5 separate regions of the Homo sapiens genome follow, and all the other regions are linked to region 1. The links are contacts of gene promoters, found by promoter capture Hi-C in blood cells and fetal thymus (Javierre and others, 2016). All regions are on one chromosome and are shown on one strand. The core of a region is centred on a gene start or on the middle of the fragment in contact, and the rest is flanking DNA. Distances in the headings are between cores, read along the strand shown. Region 1 holds the start of UCN3 (urocortin 3). Region 2 has its middle 42 kb from the start of AKR1E2. Region 3 has its middle 23 kb from the start of AKR1E2. Region 4 has its middle 5.5 kb from the start of AKR1E2. Region 5 overlaps AKR1E2 (aldo-keto reductase family 1 member E2).

What was found. Contacts are between HindIII fragments. The CHiCAGO score rates a contact against its expected background, and 5 or more counts as called.
Region 2: a contact is called between a fragment that was not itself captured here and the fragment with the promoter of UCN3 in region 1, in 1 of 17 cell types (erythroblasts). The highest score is 6.6, in erythroblasts.
Region 3: a contact is called between a fragment that was not itself captured here and the fragment with the promoter of UCN3 in region 1, in 6 of 17 cell types (erythroblasts, total CD4 T cells, neutrophils and 3 more). The highest score is 10.8, in erythroblasts.
Region 4: a fragment that was not itself captured here is called in contact with the fragment with the promoter of UCN3 in region 1 in 5 of 17 cell types (neutrophils, non-activated CD4 T cells, naive CD8 T cells and 2 more); the score reaches 6.3 in neutrophils.
Region 5: a fragment that was not itself captured here is called in contact with the fragment with the promoter of UCN3 in region 1 in 4 of 17 cell types (total CD4 T cells, activated CD4 T cells, M1 macrophages and 1 more); the score reaches 7.3 in total CD4 T cells.

What each region holds. Positions count from the first base shown.
Region 1 is chr10:5,363,588-5,366,376 of GRCh38, forward strand. UCN3 (urocortin 3) reads left to right here and starts at 1,379. Exons shown (of 2, transcript NM_053049.4): 1 at 1,379-1,643. The HindIII fragment of the contact is 8,098 bases long and covers 1-1,646 here.
Region 2 is chr10:4,782,406-4,785,194 of GRCh38, forward strand. No RefSeq gene overlaps it. Among named protein-coding and RNA genes, the nearest start is that of AKR1E2, 42 kb to the right of the region's middle. The HindIII fragment of the contact is 3,177 bases long and covers 1-2,789 here.
Region 3 is chr10:4,801,365-4,804,153 of GRCh38, forward strand. No RefSeq gene overlaps it. Among named protein-coding and RNA genes, the nearest start is that of AKR1E2, 23 kb to the right of the region's middle. The HindIII fragment of the contact is 3,618 bases long and covers 1-2,789 here.
Region 4 is chr10:4,819,292-4,822,080 of GRCh38, forward strand. No RefSeq gene overlaps it. Among named protein-coding and RNA genes, the nearest start is that of AKR1E2, 5.5 kb to the right of the region's middle. The HindIII fragment of the contact is 5,131 bases long and covers 1-2,789 here.
Region 5 is chr10:4,841,508-4,844,296 of GRCh38, forward strand. AKR1E2 (aldo-keto reductase family 1 member E2) reads left to right here. Exons shown (of 10, transcript NM_001040177.3): 7 at 278-350; 8 at 914-997. Among named protein-coding and RNA genes, the nearest start is that of AKR1E2, 17 kb to the left of the region's middle. The HindIII fragment of the contact is 2,933 bases long and covers 1-2,789 here.

The DNA of each region.
Region 1 (2,789 bases), core at 129-2,628:
ATATGGAATAAACTCCCAACTCCGCAGGCCTTTGGAGCACCTTAGTGCAGAGCAGCCTCTGCACCCACCAACACCTCCCTCCCATCGTCCTCCTTCTCTCCCGTTCCTCTCAGCCCTGGCTCAGTCCATGCTGATCCATCCTTTCTGTCTGAAACCCCTCCTGCTCTCCTCTCCTGTCTTGAGTAGACAGGACTGCTCTCTTCTGTAGCATTTTTTACCTACCTTTCTTTCTTTCTTTCTTTTGAGATGGAGTCTCACTCTGTTGCCCAGGCTGGAGTGCAATGGCGCCATCTCAGCTCACTGCAACCCCCACCTCCCAGGTTCAAGTGATTCTCTTGCCTTGGCCTCCTGAGTAGTTGGAATTACAGGCACTCGCCACCATGCCCGGCTAATTTTTTTTGTATTCTTAGTAGAGCCGGGGTTTCACCATGTTGGCCAGGCTAGTCTTGAACTCCTGACCTCGTGATCTGCCCGCCTCGGCCTCCCACAGTGCTGGGATTACTGGCATAAGCCACCGCACCCAGCCTTCCCTACCTTTCTAAACCATGAGGCCCTGTATGGTTAGGGGCCACAACTTACTTATCTCTGAACTCGTGGGTGTCTTGGCAATACCTGGTACACAGTAAGTCCTCAATAAATATAGGATGCATAAACGAGTAAAATCCAAGCCATTTCCCACTAAAACCTCCAGACCTCTGGTGTATGATGACCTGCTGTCATAGCCCAAAGGAATGGTTGAGTTTCAGGTATCCAGAGAAAAATGCAGGTGTAGAGCTTTCCCCTCAAACGTATTAACAAATAGATGGTGCTCAGTCATTTTCGCGGCAGGCTGCAGAGAAATCTTAAACTTTCGTGTTGTTTCACTGAGGGTACGGCAGAAGAGCCCAAGGAATGTGAAAGGAGAAACTTGCATAATTAGACTTTATGTGGGGAGTAGGCACCGAGTGTGTGACAAGCACAAGGGGCTACGTGTGCGGCCAGATGACGCTGCACGGTCAGAACCCACAAAACAACACGGCAACAGGTGGATTTTAAACCCCTTCTCTGCTTTCAAAGCAGGTCCAGGCTCTACATTTACAGAAGGAGAGTTAGGGCAAGGGGAATGTGGGGGAAACTGAAATTAGTTAGAACTAAGATCAGCAATAAAATTCTTCAAAGACACTGCTTCTCACTTTACCAGGATTTTTGTTTTGTTTTGTTTTGAGTTTTTATTTCTTCTTTTTCTTTTTTGTTCTTTGCTTTTATCAATGAAGCAAGTTGCTAGGATGCAAAAGGAGTTGGGGGGTAGAAGGGCGGGGTGGGAAGCAGAGGTGGGAGGGGTCGAGGTTGGAGCACCTGTCGTCTGCATGACGTGGACGGCTGGTTCTGGTTGTATTTTAAATGAAATCTCATCCCAGCGTAGACACCACGTCTGGAATTACGATCCACCCTGTGATCTGTCACTTTTATATACACACAGGGGAGGGGACCGTTTCCATAGAGAGGGAATATCACAGCCCACTTAGGAACAATACCGGAGAAGCAGGAGCCGAGACCCCGGAGCAGCCACAAGTTCATGGGGACGTGCACGGGGCCGCCCTCCTGGCCCTGAAGCTGCGCCGGCCTCCCTGAGCGTTTCGCTGCGGAGGGAAGTCCACTCTCGGGTAAGCTTGTGGCTGGGACTGACTTATGAAGGGTAAATGTATCTGCCCTAATTTAAGCAGGAGGTGCCATGCACTAGACAGGTGTGAGAGATGAGAGCTGCTAGCGCCCCTGGGTGGAAGCCCAAGGGAGCGATGCTGAACGCCCCCCACCCAATCAGCAGAAATCAGCCCCAAAGGGACCAGGGGAAGTTTCTCAGGGAGGCACAATCACATTCCCACGTTGGTATAGAGAGACCCTCTTTCCAAAGGTGTTAGATCAGAGGCAGAAGGTGTTCACACAAATCTGTTTTCTCTGAACAGAGCACAGCTGTGCACAGGAAAGTCAGTCCTCGGAGACAGTTTACAAATGGGGATGGGGTAGGGATGCCGGGGCTAATGGGAGCCACAGGACATGACTCCACGCCGCCTGCAAAGCAGCGAGGACACCTGCACTTACTGTTTACCTGTGCCACAAACCTTCACCTGTGCCATCTCCCGTCACTCTCGGGCACACCTGTGAAGCAGGTAACGTCTCCTTCCTAGGACGCGGCAAGTGAAATGCAGGTTAAGGGATTCACCCAAGAAAAGTCAGAGGCAAGGGAGTTTCCCCAGCCAGGTCCTCTGCCACCAAAGCCCAGAGCCCTTTGCCACACTAGGAACATTGCGGGGGTGTGTGCAGATACCTACAATGGCTAACTCCTACCTGTGAAGGGGAGATGGATGTTTGATGTTTATGTTTTCTGAAAATTCCTGTTCGCAATTTCTTTCCCAAGCATAGCCACCTACCAAAAATAACAAATGTGAGATTTTTAAAACGTTTTAAGTGGTCTAGTTTCAGTTTAACTTCTTATCAGTGTTTGCAGACAAACGGAGCCCACAGGAATAGCTCTGCACTTGGCAGAGATGTGTGATCAGTACTGTTTGCCTCCTGCCTTTGCTGCTTCATGTCCTGTCCTCTCCCTGTGAGGTGCTGGGAATTGGAGGCTGACCCAGGTCCCTCACGTTTCAGTGCTTGGCTCTGCCACAGCTCCCAGAAGTAACTGTGTCTCTTTACAGCATCCTCGACAAGTGCTACTGTCACCATAGCCCAAAGGAATGGTTGAGTTTCAGGCACCCAGAGAAAAATACAGGTGTAGAGCTTTGCCCCTCAAATGTATTAATAACTAG
Region 2 (2,789 bases), core at 145-2,644, 580 kb before region 1:
AGAGAAGTAAGAAGGGTATTATGGGAATGAACGTCTTCTTCCTCTTTGAGTTGGTAGTTGCTGAGATTGCCAGGTAGAGAAATGAAGAGTGAACAACAGAAATTATTTAGAAAATCCAGTGATCGCTGGATATATCTGGCTGATCAGCAGGTTTCTCAGTCCAAAATTCTGAGCATCTCATGTGGCATTATCTAAACAGCCACACAAAGCCAATAGGTAATGGAAATGGGTCTGGAAGATGACCAGCAAGTAATACCTTACCAAAAACTTTCAGTTCTGATGTTGATGAACAGTTATACACTCCTGTTCTCTCTTCCCTGGTGAGAAGGCCATTCCTAGACTGCTTCTCCACTCCACATATTAACGGCCCCTGGAAAGCCACTGTATTCATCTCTCCTGTGTGAAACCCCAACATTCAAACACTGACCATTGTTTTCAGACCAAACTGAAGTTCCGTTACACAGGTAGGCTGCTCCGTTAGCAGTCATTTGTCTACACCCTATACTTCACAGTAAGTTAATGATACAGCTCAAGAAATGCCTTTTCTGACCGTATCTTTTAATATATGGACCATATCCACCAAGTCAAACTTCAATTTCTATTTCCAAGTGCATATGTGCCACATTTTGGAGCAGTGAAGACATGTTAAAATGTGACTGAGAGGTTAAGTATGGCTAAAAAAATTAATCTTCTACTTTTTTCCTTGTTTCTTATTGAAATGGATTCCGTAAATATTAGCTGGAGAGGTAATTGCTTACTACAGTTAGAAATAAGACAATAAGTAGTTTAGGGAAAGTAATTATATTTATATAGCCTTTGCTTAGATTTCAAAAATTATATGTTTTATAGTTATGACTTTAGAATACAACTGCCTGCATCCTGTTTAGCTCAACGTCCAGATAACACCAGCAAAATGGGTTCTCCTTCATCAGTCTATTGGTAGCTCTCTCTTTTTCTTTAATGTATTCTTAAATACAGCATTGGAATTTCATAAGGACAATATTCTAGGAATGCCCCAAAGAAATATGTGCAATCTGACCTAACATCACATCTTTCGTGAATGACTTGGAAAAGGTAATGTTGTGACTGGTTCATTGTAATTCAGCACATTTAACCTACAGTTACAACAATCATTATTCCCAAAAATGTGTAAGATAGCCAGGGTATCAGAGAGTCTGTCCAGCCTGTTCCCTTAGCTACTGATACCTGTCAGACCTCACATCCTGATCTGAAATTGAAAAGTGTTACAATAACAACTACAGGTTGTCGTGTTGTTAGTTTTGTCCAGGCAAATATATGTATTTATAGCCTCTAGGATCCATGCAGGTACCATAGTCTTGTAACCCCACCCCTCTGTTCACCATTGACTGTGTAGAACAGTGGCTAAGACCACAGGTTATAGAGTTAGAGACTTCCTTCTGATACTTCCTGGTGGAATGACAGTGGACAATATCTGTAGTATCTGTAAAGCCTCAGTTTTATCTGCTTTCAAAATGGTAATAGTATTATCTACCTCATAAGTTGCTTATGAGGATTAAATGAGATAATATATATAAGGCATAACTTACAGTGCCTTGTGGTTAGTAATTACTCGTGAAATGTTAGCTATCATTGCTGTCATTATTTTAATATACAACCAAGATTAACATTATGTGAGGCCCCACTGGCAGGTCAATTCCCTTCAAATATTATTTGGCTATTTCTGAGTTATTGACTCTCATCTTCATAAGAATCAGTACCTAAGGTTTTAACAAATAGAGATATTTTATTTGTATAAATAATCATCTCAAATAAATTTACTACTTGCTGTCTGAATAAATCCTGGTTTTAAAAATGACTGCTGGAAAATTTGCGATTTATACCAATATCAATATAATAGTAACTTTCCCTAAACATCCAAAATGTTGATACTAAAAATATAACTTTTTTGCCATTTGGAGTTTTCAAAAGCAAATCTATTTGGGTAAACGGTGGTCTAAACCTGTTTGGACCAAATAAAATCATAAAAATATTTAAACCATTTACTTCTTCAACGAAGCACATTTGTGAATAAAACATTGGCAAATATTAAATTAGATCTCTTTATATAATTAATGACGAGAGAAAACTAGCAAAATGTTAAGGGAAACATTATTTTTTATATAAATATAGAAAGCCTGAGAAATACATGTTTGGATAGAGTGAGACATTTCACTTTATGTCATAAATACCATGTTTTAATGTTTCAAAATTTCAATTTGAAAGGGGGAAATATGTAATGTTTCTGCCAACAGCACTTACATAAATTTCATGCATGCTTGGTCTATTCCTTCTAAAATGCATTTTAAAAGGAAGATTTAAAAAATACGAAAACAGCATGCTTATTATCCACAGTACCTTATTTATAGGCTTGCTCCACAAGTCACTGTGAGACCACAGCCTGGAAATGATTTTTCTTGTGCTTTTTCTTTATCTACCACAAGGAGGAAGATGTCATCAGCCATATCTATAACATGGCAAGAGGAACAAAAATTAAAAGCTGTGGCTTATGATTAAAGGCATCCTATAAAATATGTGCTTGCTGAAACGCCATCGGCTAACTCCAAATATGTATGGAACTAAGTGTAAAGTTATGGCTGGCAAGTTGCTTTGTGTCATTTTCTTGTCGACGCTCAACATGCAAAGTAGCACCAGCACTCTGTGCAAATAGAACAGCAATGATACGGCAAAATAAGGAAGGGCTGGCTGGATTAGCAACAATGATACCAATACACTAACATACTAATGCACCCGACATTCTAATACCCAGG
Region 3 (2,789 bases), core at 177-2,676, 560 kb before region 1:
GTTATATAACATTATCAGATTTTCTATCAGATCATGAAGCGGGGGTGTTGGGCACCCTTGCATTGAAAGCTCTGTTCTGATTTCACAACTCCTGGATCCACTCTCCAAGCCCAAACCCCTTCCTGAGAAACATTCTAGGTATAACTGATGAACCTGAGATGTCATGAGAGCAGGGCAAGGCCAACAGGATGCTCTCTTCCTGGAATGTGGATTTGGATTTCAAACTCTAACGAGTGTCTGTAAGCCGCTTAACTGGTGTCCTGCAGGCAGGGCTGAGGAGAGTTTGGGTTGTTTTGACTCATGCACACCCAAAATCAGAACATGTTTGTTTGCAAGGAGAGAAAAGAACAAAGCAGAAGAGAGACACAGAGATGAGAGGTTTGTCACCTTGGGTCACAGCGAGCCTGTGGCATGGTTCCCTGGGAGGCCCTGCTGCCCCTCTGCCTTCCCTTAGGTGCCTCAGATCTGTACCACAGCCCTTGGTGCTGCATTCTGCCAGCTCAGAGGGGTTTTGTTAATTGCAACCAAAAAGACTTGCTTAAGTATTTTAATTTCCACTTCCTAGTGGTTTTAATTAATAGTTGTTAGATGAATTAATGTAAAAACAAATGAATAAAGTAACCGCTTTAGATGAATTTTAAAAATTTTATTAAAAACATGAATATTATTTCTTCAACTAATTATCTACATCAGTGTTTTTTATGATTTCTCTCCAATTCCACTCTTTCCCCCACCAAAAAAGAGACAGTTGTCTTTCAGACACTCTTAGGATTACCTCATCCAAAATATTTGTTTTAAATGAAAAGACTTGATTTGTGAGGGGGATGTGTATATATGTGTGTGTGTGTGTGTGTGTGTGTGTGTGTATGTAGCAGAAAAAGAGGGGAGGATAAGGTCCTTTTCTATGCAACTCTCTGAGCAAAAACAATGCAGTCCTTTAAAAAATTGTTATCTTCTAATGTTAAAATAGCTAATTCTTATTTAAAGATTTAGTTGTAAGTCTTAAAGAAAATGTTAGTCTTTTAAAGATACAAGAAGTGTTAAGGGCTTCTCCACTTTTATTGGGCTGTTGGATTGGGTATTAAAATTGAGAAATATGCCTTATAAAGTTGTTTTTAATTGTAAATAAGTTCATGCATTGTTAAATTCAATTCTTGAAATATTCTGTTTCTAAGCAAATACACAACAGTACATAGCCAGTTTGCTATAGTTTCATGTTTTAAATTTTGTGTACATTTCATGTCACATGTTTCTTAATTTTTAGATGTTTACATATCTGAGCCTATGTTATCCTTGTACAAGTTTGATGGGAAAGCAACCAACACACTGATCTTTTATTCTTATTCAATTTTTCTTTCATAGGTAATTTCTGCACTAGTTTTATTTTACCTGAATTTGATCAGATGTTTTAAATGATCCAAATTCCTAGCACTAGAAAAAATCCAGGCTTTTGTAGTTTATGTTGTTGTTGAACGAGAAGAAGACCAGACAAGTAGACACACGTTCACTAATCATAGGGGTGACTTCCTTTCCAGTGTTCAGCAAGGGATGGGGTATAAGGCAATGCCAAACTTCAACCTGCCCATCAGGTGAAAGAGTGAAGAATGTTTAATGTAGAGTTGTTCTTGAAACTAGGCCAGATGATGTCACATACTGGCTTAATTTTTTCTATTGGATGCTTAATTATTTGAGGATTCTGCAGGAAAAGTCCGGGTTGAGTTGGCTTGTTCAATACTAAAATATTTTTCTCCTGCTAAAGCACACACATTCGCTCACAGCAGTGTATATGGAACTTATAGATGTTTATTTTTACCTCTTTTTTTCTTTTCCCTTCCTTTCTTACTCTCACTACCTAAGTTCAAGGTCTGTGGACTGTGTACTTGTGGAGGAGGAGCACCAGGAAGGGGAAGGGAGGGATTCCTGCTGGCAGGAACCATGGAGAGCACATCCCTACCTAACCCTGCAGAAAAGTAGCCACAGCTCAAGGAGGTCTCTCATGTAGATCTATAGAGTAGCCCGTGCAAAATAGCATCTTTCATCACAGAGTGACTGACTTTTAACAAAGCAATAAAGCTAAGCCTCTTTGGCCCATCTACCAGAATGAGGACACTGCGTTGTTAAGAAATCACTCAATTAAAATAATATTTGTCGAAATTGTACTTGACCTGTAATCAAGAGCGACATTTGACACCTTAGTGCAGCTTCTCAAATGTTACTTATTATGACTTGGAAGGGTAACAATAAACAAAAACAACACAACAAATAAATACAACAAGAGGCAAATCACACTTCCCTTTGGTTTCAGAATCTACAATGACTGCTTGAACATTTGCCTAGTTTAGGAATATGTCTTTGTCTCAGGATTTTAGGGGTGCAGAAAGGAATGAGAGTATATGGAGCCCACCTTTTCTGAACTAGCTTTCCCAGTAGCCTGGAAACAGAAGGATTTTCTTGCTTGGTAGAGAGTATTGAACCCTGTCCTTCTGTGTGTCCAGGCCAATGTCTGTCGAGAGCTTGACTCTCTGTGCTGGAACTAACCTTGTCCATCTTCCCATAGTTCAGTATTGTCTTCCTCAAAATAAAGGAAATTATCTCCAACTTCTTGAAACATGCAGAATTTTGAAATGGTTTTCTTTATAAAAACGATAATATCAGCATATTTTCTAAACTGCTTGTTAGAGGTATAGAGTTGTGCAGCTTAGATTTGGCTGTTGTGTCAGACCTCTGTGTTCCAGTCCTCCTGTGGAGTGGACCTGTGACATCAGAACACACAGAGGTGGGGACTGGAA
Region 4 (2,789 bases), core at 144-2,643, 540 kb before region 1:
TTGAATTTGAACTAGAAATGGGATCCCCTTGTAGTGATGTTTGAGAGAGCAGGGATTACTCTCCTTAAGGCTTCTATTTAACTAAAATTTTATTGGAACTGGATAACATGTGGAGGTCGGTCATAATCAATCACTGATAGACATAAATCTGCAAAGAATTCACTTGAGGGGGAGATGAGTGTCTTCCACCCCATTCAAGGTTGCCATTTTCCACAAAGTTCAGGCAGTGGAGTGAAATGCCACAATAATACTCTATTAAATCAACACATTGGTAATGTGATGGCAACACCTGTAGCCATTTCAGATACAGGCAGAAGCTCGCAGTTATTAAAGCCACATGGAGAGGGTACAGCAGGAAATGAAGAAAGAGGGAAGAAGGAGAAGCAGAGAGAGGAGAGATGCATAATTTAATACCTCCAGAAGCAACCTTGCTACAGACCATCGTCTGTTTCTATTTTTTTTCTCTGTGTCACACAGTGCTATAATGCAGAGGAACCACTGCTTTGAAGGGTATATGCCTGCACAGTCTGAGATTGACAAGTCGCTGTCCCCCGTGTGTCCCCATCGATGAGAACCACATTTATGGTTCTTGTGGTTGCTTGGACAGTCTTTATTTTCATCATGAGACAAAGATAAGGCAGACATTTCTGGTGAAAGTCTAACAGTTAAGTTGTGGTAAAAGATAGGATAGTTGGCGTTGGGCAACTTCAGTGAAAAAGAGCTCCTTATAATATCATAATCTTGTCCTCAGAAACTCGTGGACTATTATTTGTGGCTGCCTTTTCATCCTTTACTTTAGCAACTTACCGGTTGCTTTCTGTGTATGTGGGGCCAGTTTATGTGAGATTTGAAGAAGGGATTTTCCTTTATTGGGAATGTCTAATGAGCACTTACAAGCAGAATTTCCTCCCGATTTTTTTCCTCTGCACTCTGAATACTGGAAAGTGTTTTGAGGGCCTTCTGACAGTACACCACAGTGATTTTTTTTTCTGTCGTAATCCATTTATGACTAAAAAACATGATGCTTTTTGTTTTTGAGATAGAGTCTCGCTCTGTCACCCAGGGCAGAGTGCAGTGGCACAGTCTTGGCTCACTGCAACCTCTGCCTCCCAGGTTCAAGCGATTCTCCTGCCTCAGCCTCCTGAGTAGCTGAGATTACAGGCATGCGCCACCACGCCTGGCTAATTTTTGTATTTTTAGTAGAGACAAGGTTTCACCATGTTGGTTAGGCTGGTCTCGAACTCCTGACCTTGTGATCCACCCGCCTCAGCCTTCCAAAGTGCTGGGATTACAGGCATGAGCCAACGCATCTGGCCACATGATGCTTTTTTTTTGGTTGCTCACATGACAAGCTATTATTTTTGTGTCACTTTAAACAGAACTTAAGGTATAGACTTCATGCATTCCTTCTTGAGCCCTCTTCCATTACAGCAGTTAAATTTTGTCCAGATTCTGTAAACTAGTATTGCTGCCTGAGTGGCCGTGGTATTTCCTTTGAGCTGAACTTGGCCATTTTAGCTTCTTATTAGACAAAACAGTATACTTGGAGTCCTGGTGAATAACCAGACAAATGGAATTTCTTGTCCACAAAGCTCTAGCACAGTGGTTCGGCGCAGAGGCCCATGCTTCCCTACTTGATCTTGTCGTCACTGGCTCAGCCAAATGCTATTTCTCAAAGTTCATAAATCTCACATCCTCTTTGTGGAGTCTTTCCCCTTTTTGTACATGTATAATCCCCGGCCTCTAAGTAGTCTATTCACTTCTAAAGCTGTTGACTTGGCAAGATAACAACTGCATCATTCACACAAGCAAATCTGCTCTTGGAGGACAAAAAGAGGTTTATTTTGGCTTAGATGACTCCGATTGGCCATCTCCATTGAAACCTTGGCAGAAGATAGGTCCCTTGGCTACTGGGGAGAAAAGTCAAGTAAACCTTTAGTGCCAGGAATGGTGTTTGTAAAGATTCGGCATGAAGTGGTACATTTCGTCCTTGGGCTTCTTACTGGCTTCAACCCAAACAGAATCACTTAGTGCTGTTCCCCGGGTTAATGATGTTATTAGAACAATTGACTCAAAGCAAGAACTGAAAGGCTGAGTGCTTTGTTGTGAGGTGTGCAAAAATTCAAGTCTATCAAAACAGGCTTAGCAGAGCTGCCACCAGCAGGACAGCGTTTAGCTTTTGTTTGCTGCTTCTTTGATTCTTCATGGGCAGCTGGCATTTCTGTTGCTGGTTTCTACTCTCTCATCCCTAGTGGACCCTACGTTTTCTCCCCTGAGTGTGCTTATCTGTCCAGCTGCAAAAAAAAAAAACAAAAGGTGTGCTGTTGTTTCTGCACTTCTCCCTGTCCTCATCTCTCAACATCATATGTGTGCAGAGAAATCACACTTGTTGCTCTGTTGTCTCAAAAGGTCTAGCCCTGAGTTTGCTGAGGTGATGATGAAGGTTGTGTGAAGCTGTGTCAAACACTGAGAAACATACACACAGGCTGTAGCAGATGTGTGTTATTCCCTCAATGCATGCACCAGTGATGGGGATTTAGAATGAGCCACTGTGCAAAGATGCCCCAGAGAGACTATTCCCTATACATTATTATTCAGTGTAAGATACCCAATAAAGCAACTAGATAAAGAAATGCCTATATCTAAACCTAAAATATTCACTCACTCCCAGCGTTAACTTCCCTCATCCTTAAGAACAGGCTATCCATGGAGCTACCAAAATGCACTTTTAAAAAGTGTGTTCATGCTGCACTTCATATTCATGCTCCCTTTTCCCTTGACAATGTGTT
Region 5 (2,789 bases), core at 196-2,695, 520 kb before region 1:
CATGCGCTGACATGGCCACCTGGTTTTTGAGGAGAAACACCAAATACACATGAAAAGTGATGTCGTGTAGCCTTGTTCACCAAAGTGTTAGCAGTGGTTATCTCCATACTGGAAATGTGGGGCGATGTGCTTTTCTGCATTTTAAAATTTCCTGTAGTCGGCATGTGTCATGATCAGAAAATAAATCTTTCATTTTGGACAAAGATTTCTTCTTTCTAAAGAAAGGGGCATCCATGTTGGATCTCCTGGCTCACTCCCCTGTACTGTGTCTCTCTAGTGAGGGGGTTGACCTGATAGACAACCCTGTGATCAAGAGGATTGCAAAGGAGCACGGCAAGTCTCCTGCTCAGGTAGGGAGGGAGGGCTGTTCTGAGCCAGGTGGGGTTCTCTGACCGCTCTACATCCTTGGGGAGTCCTGGGGCTTGGCAGGTCCCAGGAAGGGACTGGCTCACCCAGGTGAGTCCATGACTCATTAGAACCTCCCAGCGTCAAGCAGAATTTGGTCTGCAGCCGCATTTCTAGTCACTCAAGCCATGTACTCTTGCCTCCGAGCCTGTCTAGACTCAGAGGAGGAGTTTCCAGGCCTTCTCCCTCTGCCCCACCAACTGCATGCATGGTTAGTATGAGATGGTACAGAAAAGTTATTTATTCTAGTCTTCTTTGTTCTAATGTCCAGTGGGGGGCTGGGCGCATGTTAAGGAATTCTCATTAAGCAGATTCTCTGATCTCCTCCTTGGGCTGATGGCTGTCATTACCAACATATTGACAGAGCTGCTCAGTGAATGCCAGTAACAATAGCTGCTGTCATTGATTCTTGGACTCTTACTGCATGATAAAACTCACATGTTAGAAAATAACTTAGACTACATGGGATTTCCCTTTGTGTGATAGTAGACTTTTTGTTTCCTTGCAGATTTTGATCCGATTTCAAATCCAGAGGAATGTGATAGTGATCCCCGGATCTATCACCCCAAGTCACATTAAAGAGAATATCCAGGTAGGTGTATTCCTTCTTTTATTTGGCGGGTTTCAGATCATGTGTTAGATGGGAAGGGATGACTGCTGTAGCATACAGCCTCAGGGTTGCGGAGCTTGATGCAACAGGGGCTTCTCCCTCTGCACTGTGGGTGTTGGTGGTTGACCTTCCCTCAGCGATCAAAGGACCCAGGCTCCTTCCATCTTAGGGCCCTTTCTCCCCTAGGGTGTTGGTGTCTTCTCCATCCAGCCCAAGATTAGGAAGGAGGGAAGAGCATCTTGTTGGGATGATTTGTGTGGGCCAGGCTGGAGCATGTGCACCAGTCACATGGCTGCGCTCGCCCACAGGGGAGGCTGGATGTCTCCTAAGCGTGCACTCAGGAGAAAGGGGAGGCAGTTGGTGGACAGGTCACCACCTCTGTCGCATGGAGGCATGCCCACGTGGCCTGAGGGCACTGCTTTGAGTTGTGTGGGAAGATTCTGGTCCTGACTCCTGTCTAGTGACTTCTGAGAGGCAGGAGTGAAGACTGGAACAGGTGGAGCGTGTGCAGAACACAGAGAGGCAGCGGTCCTTTTCAGGGCAATCTTTTCACCTAAGCCAAGAACCACAGAAGTGTGTGAAGTGTGTGAAATCTATTTTTGGAGCTATGTGAAGGAACTCTGTGTGGCTTCAACCCTGACGACATAGTCTGTAACCCAGTCAGGGCCATGGACTTGGGATTCCCACAGTCTCACTCACGATTTAACTGCTGCATGACCTCTCTCAGCCTTTGTTTCTTCAGTAGAGCACCCTTCTGATAGGATCACTGAGGGTGAAATGTAATGATACAGTGAAGGGATAGCATAGTGCCTGGCGTATGGAAGTACCTGATGCTCTTAGCTGCCAGTCACCCTCAGTCACGGATGTCACCTGTGATGATCTCACAGGCAACGACAGGCATTGGTGGCAGCCCACACCCATTGATCATGTCAGCATAGGTGTGTGTGATCCTGGGGCCAGCTGCACAGCTGCATTTTCATAGACAGCATGTGCCCAGGAGTATGCTCCCTCTTGGTGTCTGAGCTGCCCATGAGCTCCACAAGGCACTGCTGCATCCTGAGGGCTCGGTTTGGTTGTGCCAAGCAAGCATCGCCATTGGGGTTTATTGACCCATCTGTAACAGTGCCTGTGCCCTCAGGCTTGCTGTGCATGCCAAGCTGGCTGCAGGTGGGCATAGCCCTGCCATTGGCAGGAGAGGCAGGCCACCCACGATGGGAGGACCAGGGGATGGGCAGGTTCCTCATGGTGTCTACAGCACTCTCCCTGCCGGGCCCTTGTCCAGCTCACCTGCTGCCCGCATGCCCTTCTCCTCTCCTTTCTCAGGCGTCCTGCTCTTTGAATGGCCCAGAGCAGCTCTGGGTGACCAGCCAACCTTAAGCCTGAAAGGTATGGATTTGGCTAAACTGTAAACTCAGTTCTCTCCAATGGCTGCTGACGGGCCTCTTGGAACGAGACTGCAGGTCTCTTGTAGTGGTTAGAATTGAGCACTGCTGACTGACCGGCATCTGCTCCACATGGTGTGTCCGGAATTGGTGGGTTCTTGGTCTCACTGACTTCAGGAATGAAGCCGCGGACCCTTGCGGTGAGTGTTACAGTTCTTAAAGGTGGTGTGTCCGGAGTTTGTTCCTTCTGATGTTCGGATGTGTTCGGAGTTTCTTCCTTCTGGTGGGTTCATGGTCTCACTGGCTTAGGAGTGAAGGTGAGGACCTTTGCGGTGAGTGTTACAGCTCTTAAGGTGGCGCGTCTGGAGTTGTTCGTTCCTCCCGGTGGGTTC